Regions from separate parts of the Homo sapiens genome. Here region 2 is linked to region 1. The links are contacts of gene promoters, found by promoter capture Hi-C in blood cells and fetal thymus (Javierre and others, 2016). All regions are on one chromosome and are shown on one strand. Each heading gives the region's core, a stretch centred on a gene start or on the middle of the fragment in contact. The rest is flanking DNA. Distances are from core to core; before and after follow the strand shown. Region 1 holds the start of APOA5 (apolipoprotein A5). Region 2 overlaps CEP164 (centrosomal protein 164).

The links. Contacts are between HindIII fragments. The CHiCAGO score rates a contact against its expected background, and 5 or more counts as called.
Region 2: a fragment that was not itself captured here is called in contact with the fragment with the promoter of APOA5 in region 1 in 1 of 17 cell types (naive CD4 T cells); the score reaches 6.5 in naive CD4 T cells.

What each region holds. Positions count from the first base shown.
Region 1 is chr11:116,790,259-116,793,418 of GRCh38, forward strand. APOA5 (apolipoprotein A5) reads right to left here and starts at 1,621. Exons shown (of 3, transcript NM_001371904.1): 1 at 1,554-1,621; 2 at 1,328-1,439; 3 at 1-809. The coding sequence starts at 1,602. The HindIII fragment of the contact is 6,000 bases long and covers 1-2,555 here.
Region 2 is chr11:117,338,667-117,341,826 of GRCh38, forward strand. CEP164 (centrosomal protein 164) reads left to right here. Exons shown (of 33, transcript NM_014956.5): 3 at 1-2. Among named protein-coding and RNA genes, the nearest start is that of CEP164, 12 kb to the left of the region's middle. The HindIII fragment of the contact is 3,559 bases long and covers 1-3,160 here.

The DNA of each region.
Region 1 (3,160 bases), core at 371-2,870:
AGGCACTGTGGCCTGGTGGAGGTGGCGCCAGCTGCTGCTGGACCTCCTCAGTCTCCTGGTCGATGGCGCGAGTGAAGGCAGCTATCTGCAGGTAGGTGTCCTGGCGGAAAGCCTGAAGTCGCTGGCGCACCTCCTCGGAGAGCATCTGGGGGTCCGGGCCGGCCCCTTCCTCAGTCCCAGTGCCTGCAAAGGCTCTGCTGAGCTCTTCGCGCAGCTGGTCCAGGTTCTGCTGGATGCGTGCGTGCAGGGCCTTGGCCTTGAGCGTGAGCTTCCGGGAGAGCACCTGCACGCAGCGACTGAGGCGCGCGGGGCTGGCGGGGGCGTGCGGAGCCACACTGCGGTGCAGCTCCTGCACGTGGCGCCCGATGCCGCTCACCAGGCTCTCGGCGTATGGGTGGAAGAGCTCTTTGAAGCGGCCGGTGTGGTGCACCACGCGGCTCTGCAGTCCCTGCAGCAAAGCCCAAGCCTCGTCCACGCCCCCCAGCAACTGGGCCTTGGTGTCTTCCCCCACCACGCGCAACTGCTCCTGCAGCTCCTGCACGCGCAGGGCCACCTGCTCCATCAGATCCATCGTGTAGGGCTTCAGTTGCTGCCGCAAGCCCTCCAAATTCCAGCCCACCAGCTCGTGCGCCTCTGCCATGTAGGGCTGGAGGCGAGCCTTCACCTCCTCCAACTCCTCCTGCAGCTGCCGCCGCATGCCCACCGGGTCCTGTGGGAGCCGAGGAGCCTCGCTCCCACTCAGAGGCCTCAGCTTTTCCAGGAACTTGTTCATATTGTTGAGGTCTTGCTCAAGGCTGTCTTTCAGGGTCCTGGAGAAGGGGACAGATATCCAGGCCGTCAGACTGCTAGCCTCCATCATCTCCTTTGTCCCCAAGTCATCGCGCACTGATCCTCTGGGGGAACCAAGGACGCAGGGCGTTGGCCCCAGGGTCGAGGGCTCTTGTCCTAGCCCTGGCCAGTAACAACTCACGCACGAAGCACAAACACATTGCCCATACAAATCCAGACCTACAACACTCTCCAAAGAAACATAGATGCGCCACATCATCCTTTGATTCTGGGGACTGCAGCGGGCGTCCTCCCGATTGATCCCAGGTCCCGCGCCTCAGTGAGCAAGGGGGCAACAGCTACGGAGTTGTCAAGGCGGGGGCTGCAGGCAGAGGGCGCTAAAGAGCCCAGGATGGCCGGGATCTGCAGACAGAGCTAGCACCGCTCCTTTCCTCTGTCCCAGCAGCGGCCACAGAGGTTGAGGCAGCAGAGGCAGGTCATCATGGCATGGCCCAGCTGTCTCCTCCCTTCGCCTACACCCCTTCCCCTGGGCACTCACGCGGGCTCGCGAGCCATCTTCTGCTGATGGATCTGCTCCACCCTGCCTTTGTCCCCGCTGGTCTGGCTGAAGTAGTCCCAGAAGCCTTTCCGTGCCTGGGTGGCCGAAAACGCTGTGGAGAGGGACTAGGTAATCAGGGCCTGGGCTCTCCTCCCCCAGGGTGGACAGGGCCCTCTGGCCAGCCTCCACCCACACCCCCACGTTGAAGTCAGGGTCGGAGACCCACCTGAAAGAAGAGCCAGAGCCCAGGTGAGCACGGCAGCCATGCTTGCCATTACCTGCTCTGAGAAGACAGGTGGAGGGAGGCCTGGTTAGGGGAAGAAGGAGACGAAGGGACATGGCGCAGGGGACTTGCCCAGGGGGCCTCTGCAGGGGCAACTGCCCGAAATCCTGTTACCCCTTCCTTGGGCTGGGGAGCACAGAGCTGTTGGGGCTCAAGAGGACTGACCTAGGTGAGTCAAGGAGGCTAGGGTGTCTTCCTCAGACATGGGAAGAGGGCGTGCTCTTGCTACCTCAGTCACATAGCAGGGAGCGTGGTGCTCTAACCCCTTCGCAAAGGTCCCAGACCCCAGGAACAGTTCTCTAGGCCACTTCTACCACCTCTCCCCTGCCCACCTGTCTCCCTCCCTCCCATTTCATGGTGGAAAAACTGAGCCATAATGAGGGCGAAGAGGCAACTCTGCCAAAATGTTCCAAGAGGACGTCTTAGGGGCCACCCCAGGCTCTCCCCTGAGGCCACCTGCAATGCCCTCCCTTAGGACTGTGACCCCCATCCCTCTGCCCCAGCTGCTCACCTGCTCACGTCTGGGCACAGAGAGCAGACATTCTGCTTTATACTCCAGGGCCCTGAGCCTCTGGCACCAATTGCTCTGAGTAAATACCACGTGGAAGTTCAAAAGAAGTTGACCTCAGCTGCCTCCCAGCACTCACCTCCTGCCCTTTCCCTGGCACCCAGAGGGTTAATGAGTGCCCTGGTATCAGGGGCTGCCCCAGTAGAGAAGTGCTTCCCAGGAGCTTTACGGGGGATGGGGCTGAACTCCTCACCCAGTTTCTCCCAAACCCCATGACCTTTAACCTTCCCACTGACCTGCTGGCTGGCCCACCAACAGAGAAGAACCTGTTTGTCTGCCAAGGGCCCCTCTCTTACACAACTACCCAGAGTCACTGTGTCCCAGCCGGCAAGATGGACAGTGTTCACCTACCAGCCAGAACCCGAGCAGCCCCTGAAAGCTTCACTACAGGTTCCGCAGGCATCCTCAGCCAGCATTCATAGGGTTAAAGACCAACCACATCCCTCTTTATGAAACAATCCTGGAACAAGCAAGGGAAGCCAGGCAGGGTGAAGATGAGATGGCAAGAGGCATCTGGGCCAGGGACTCTGAGCCCCAGGAACTGGAGCGAAAGTGAGATTTGCCCCATGAGGAAAAGCTGAACTCCACTCGCAGGGCCTCTGAGGAGAGCAAGCCCAAATGCTCAGATCTTCTCTGATGACACACCCACTCCGTCTACAGTACTCATACACACGTTCACAAGCTCCCGATTCTTGGTCCTAAATGCATCTTGAATCAATCCCCTCTCCTCCATTTCCACTACCATCATTGCACCAGTTGTCTGTCACCTTGATTGCATTCATAGCCTCCAACAGGTCTTTCTACCACACTCCTGCCCATTTAATTCATCCTCCACTGTGGCTCATCCTGACTCATTTCCAGTCTCATCTGCTGCCACATAAAACCACGGCATTCCCTGAGCCTTTATACAGGCTTCCCTCTGCTTGAAATAGCCTATCCCCTGGTGAATATATATTCATTTTTTAGAGTTAGTTTGTATTAG
Region 2 (3,160 bases), core at 381-2,880, 550 kb after region 1:
AGGTAACAAGTCTGTGAAGAGGCCTGTGGTGTATTGTGTTTGTTTTTTGAGGACAGGGATTGTCTGGTTTATTTTTATTCTTTCAGTGCAAAGTATGGTACATGTACAGAGTTGCTTAGTATATTCGGGTTAGATCAAATGTGAGCCTACCTTGGCCTCTTGCCTGTTTTTTTTTAAGTTTCTTTCTGTTGCCCAGGCTGGAGTGCAGTGGCGTGATCTCAGCTCACTGCAACCTCTGCCTCCCAGGTTCAAGTGATTCTCCCACCTCAGCCTCCCGAGAAGCTGGGATTACAGGCGTGCACCACCACACCTGGCTAATTTTTTGTACTTTTAGTAGAGACGGGTTTCACCATGTTGGACAAGCTGGTCTCGAACTCCCGACCTCAAGCGGTTTGCCTGCCTCCGGCTCCCAAAGTGCTGGGATTACAGGCGTGAGCCACCTTGCCTGGCTACTTGCCTATTTTTGTAAATACACCTTCATTGGAAAACAGCCACAATGGTTTATGTATTGTGTGTGGCTGCTTCTATGCTACAGCTGCAGAGATATGTGGCTGTTAAGAGAGGTATATGACCCACAAAGGGTAAGATAGTTACTCTCCGGTTGTTTACAGAAAAAGTTTGCTGTCTTTGGGTTAGAGCAGTGATTAGATTTAAATGGAAACATAGTAGGGGGTATCTAAATACAGTGTGTTCTGAGACCAGGGGAAACCCAATTTCCTAAGCACGAACTTAGAGCAGTGTTTTTTTAAACAACAATAACATTATTAGTAACAATAACAACATAACTTATTATGTGCCAGCGTCTGTTTTAAGCACTTTGCATGTATTACCTTATTACCTTTTCCTTTGTTTTTTGTTTTTTTTTTTTTTTTTTTTTTTTGAGACAGAGTCTCACTCTGTCACCCAGGCTGGAATGCAGTGGTATGATCTTGGCTCACTGCAACCTCTCTCTCCCGGGTTCAAGCGAATCTCATGCCTCAGCCTCCTGAGTAGCTAGAACTACAGGTGCCCACCACCACACCTGGGGAACTAATTTTTGTATTTTTAGTAGAGAAGGGGTTTTGCAGTGTTGGCCAGGCTGGTCTCAAACTGACCTCAAGTGATCTTCCCACCTCCACTTCCCAGAGTGCTGGGATTACAGGCGGGAGACACCATGCCTGGCCCATGTATTACCTTTTCAACCCTCACTGCAACTCCATGAGTTAGGTACTATTATTATCCCCATTTTACAGATGAGGAAATCAAGGCACAGAAAGATTAACTTCCTGTGGATATACAGTTCTATTCTAAGTGGTGTTGCTAGAATCCACCTCCAGGTATTCAAGCTCTAGGGCCTGTACTTTGTTCTTTGTTTTTTTTTGTTAGTTTGTTTTTTTTGAGATGGAGTTTCACTCTGTCGCCCAGGCTGGAGGGCAGTGGCGGGATCTCTGCTCACTGCAACCTCCGCCTCCCAGGTTCAAGTGAATCTCCTGCCTTAGCCTCCCTAGTAGCTGGGACTACAGATGCGTGCCACTGTGCTTGGGTAATTTTTTTGTATTTTTAACAGAGACGGGGTTTTGCCATGTTGGCGAGGCTGGTCTCAAACTGACAAGTGATCTCCCCGTCTTGGCCTCCCAGAGGATTGGGATTACAGGCATGAGCCACTTGTGCCTGGCCATAGGGCCTGCACTTTGAAGCACTATGCAATTATTTGGAGTGAAAGTTTCTTTGAAATTCTGACGAGTTATGATCTAGGCATACAAAGTTTGCTTATAATTCAGGTGGTTCATGGACTTGAGAGCAGGGTTCACAATTCTTGCATCTCTAGGAATACATGGATCTCATGTTAAATGCTGGACTTTGCTTATAGCATAGGGTGTTTTTTTTGTTTTCCATATTTTTGTTTTTAGAGACAGTCTTACTCTGTCACCCAGGCTAGTATGCAGTGGCTCCATCATAGCTCACTGCAGCCTTGAACTCGTGGGCTCAGGTGATCCTCCCATGTAGCTAGAACTACAGGTGCATGTCATGTGTCTGGCTAATTAAAATAAATTTTTTTGTAGGGATAGGCTCTCACTGTGTTGCCCAGGCTAGTCTTGAACTCCTGGGTTCAAGTGATCCTCCTGTCTGGGCTTCCCAAAGTGCAGGGATTACAGACATAAGCCACTACGACTGGCCTCTTTCTTTCTTTCCTACTTTCTCTTTAGAGACGGAGTCTCACTTTGTCGCCCAGGCTGGACTGCAATGGCGTGAGCTCGGCTCGCTGCAACCTCCAGGTTCAAGTGATTCTTCTGTCTCAGACTCCCAAGTAGCTGGGACTACAGGTGCACGCCACCACACCCAGCTAATTTTTGTATTTTTAGCAGAGACAGGGTTTCACCATATTGGTCAGGCTGGTCTTGAACTCTTGACTTCAGGTGATCTACCTGCCTCGGCCTCCCAAAGTGCTGGGATTACAGGTGTGAGTCACTGCACCTAGCCATGAATGGCCTGTTTCTTAAATTTGTATACATTTGGTTGCTGTTGTAAATGGAGTCAAAGGTTTTTCTAAGGATGTTTATAAAAACTTTCTTCGGCCCAGTCCAGGTGTAGGCATTCTAACCTCAAGCCACCATTTTCTCTTCCTGGGCTATCTCAGTAGCTTCCTAATTAGCCTTACTGTTTATAAAGCAGATCATGTCAGGGCTGTGCTTTTAGTCCCCCCGCATCCCCAGTATACTCAACATAACACCCTTGATGGGATTGCAGGGCTCTGTGACCTGGCTCTTTCTACCAGTCACATTGGCCTTTTTTTGTTGTTTGTTTGTTTTTTTTTTGAGACCGAGTTTCACTCTGTCACTCAGACTGGAGTGCAGTGGTGTGAACTTGGCTTATTGAAGCCTTGACCCCTTGGGCTCAAGTGATTCTCCCACCTCAGCCTCCCAAGTAGCTGGGACCACAAGTGCATACCATCAGGCCTGGCTAATTTTTGTATTGTGTTGGTAGAGATGGGGTCTTGCCGTGTTGCCCAGGCTGGTCTTGAACTCCTGGGCTCAAGCAATCCACCCACCTCAGTCTCCCAACGTGCTGGGATTACAGGTGTGCATCACCATACCTGGCTATACTGGCTTTCTGACAGTCCCCAGAGCTACTGGTTGTCACAGGTCCTTTGCACCTGTGCTTCTTCTGCCTGAATGCTCTT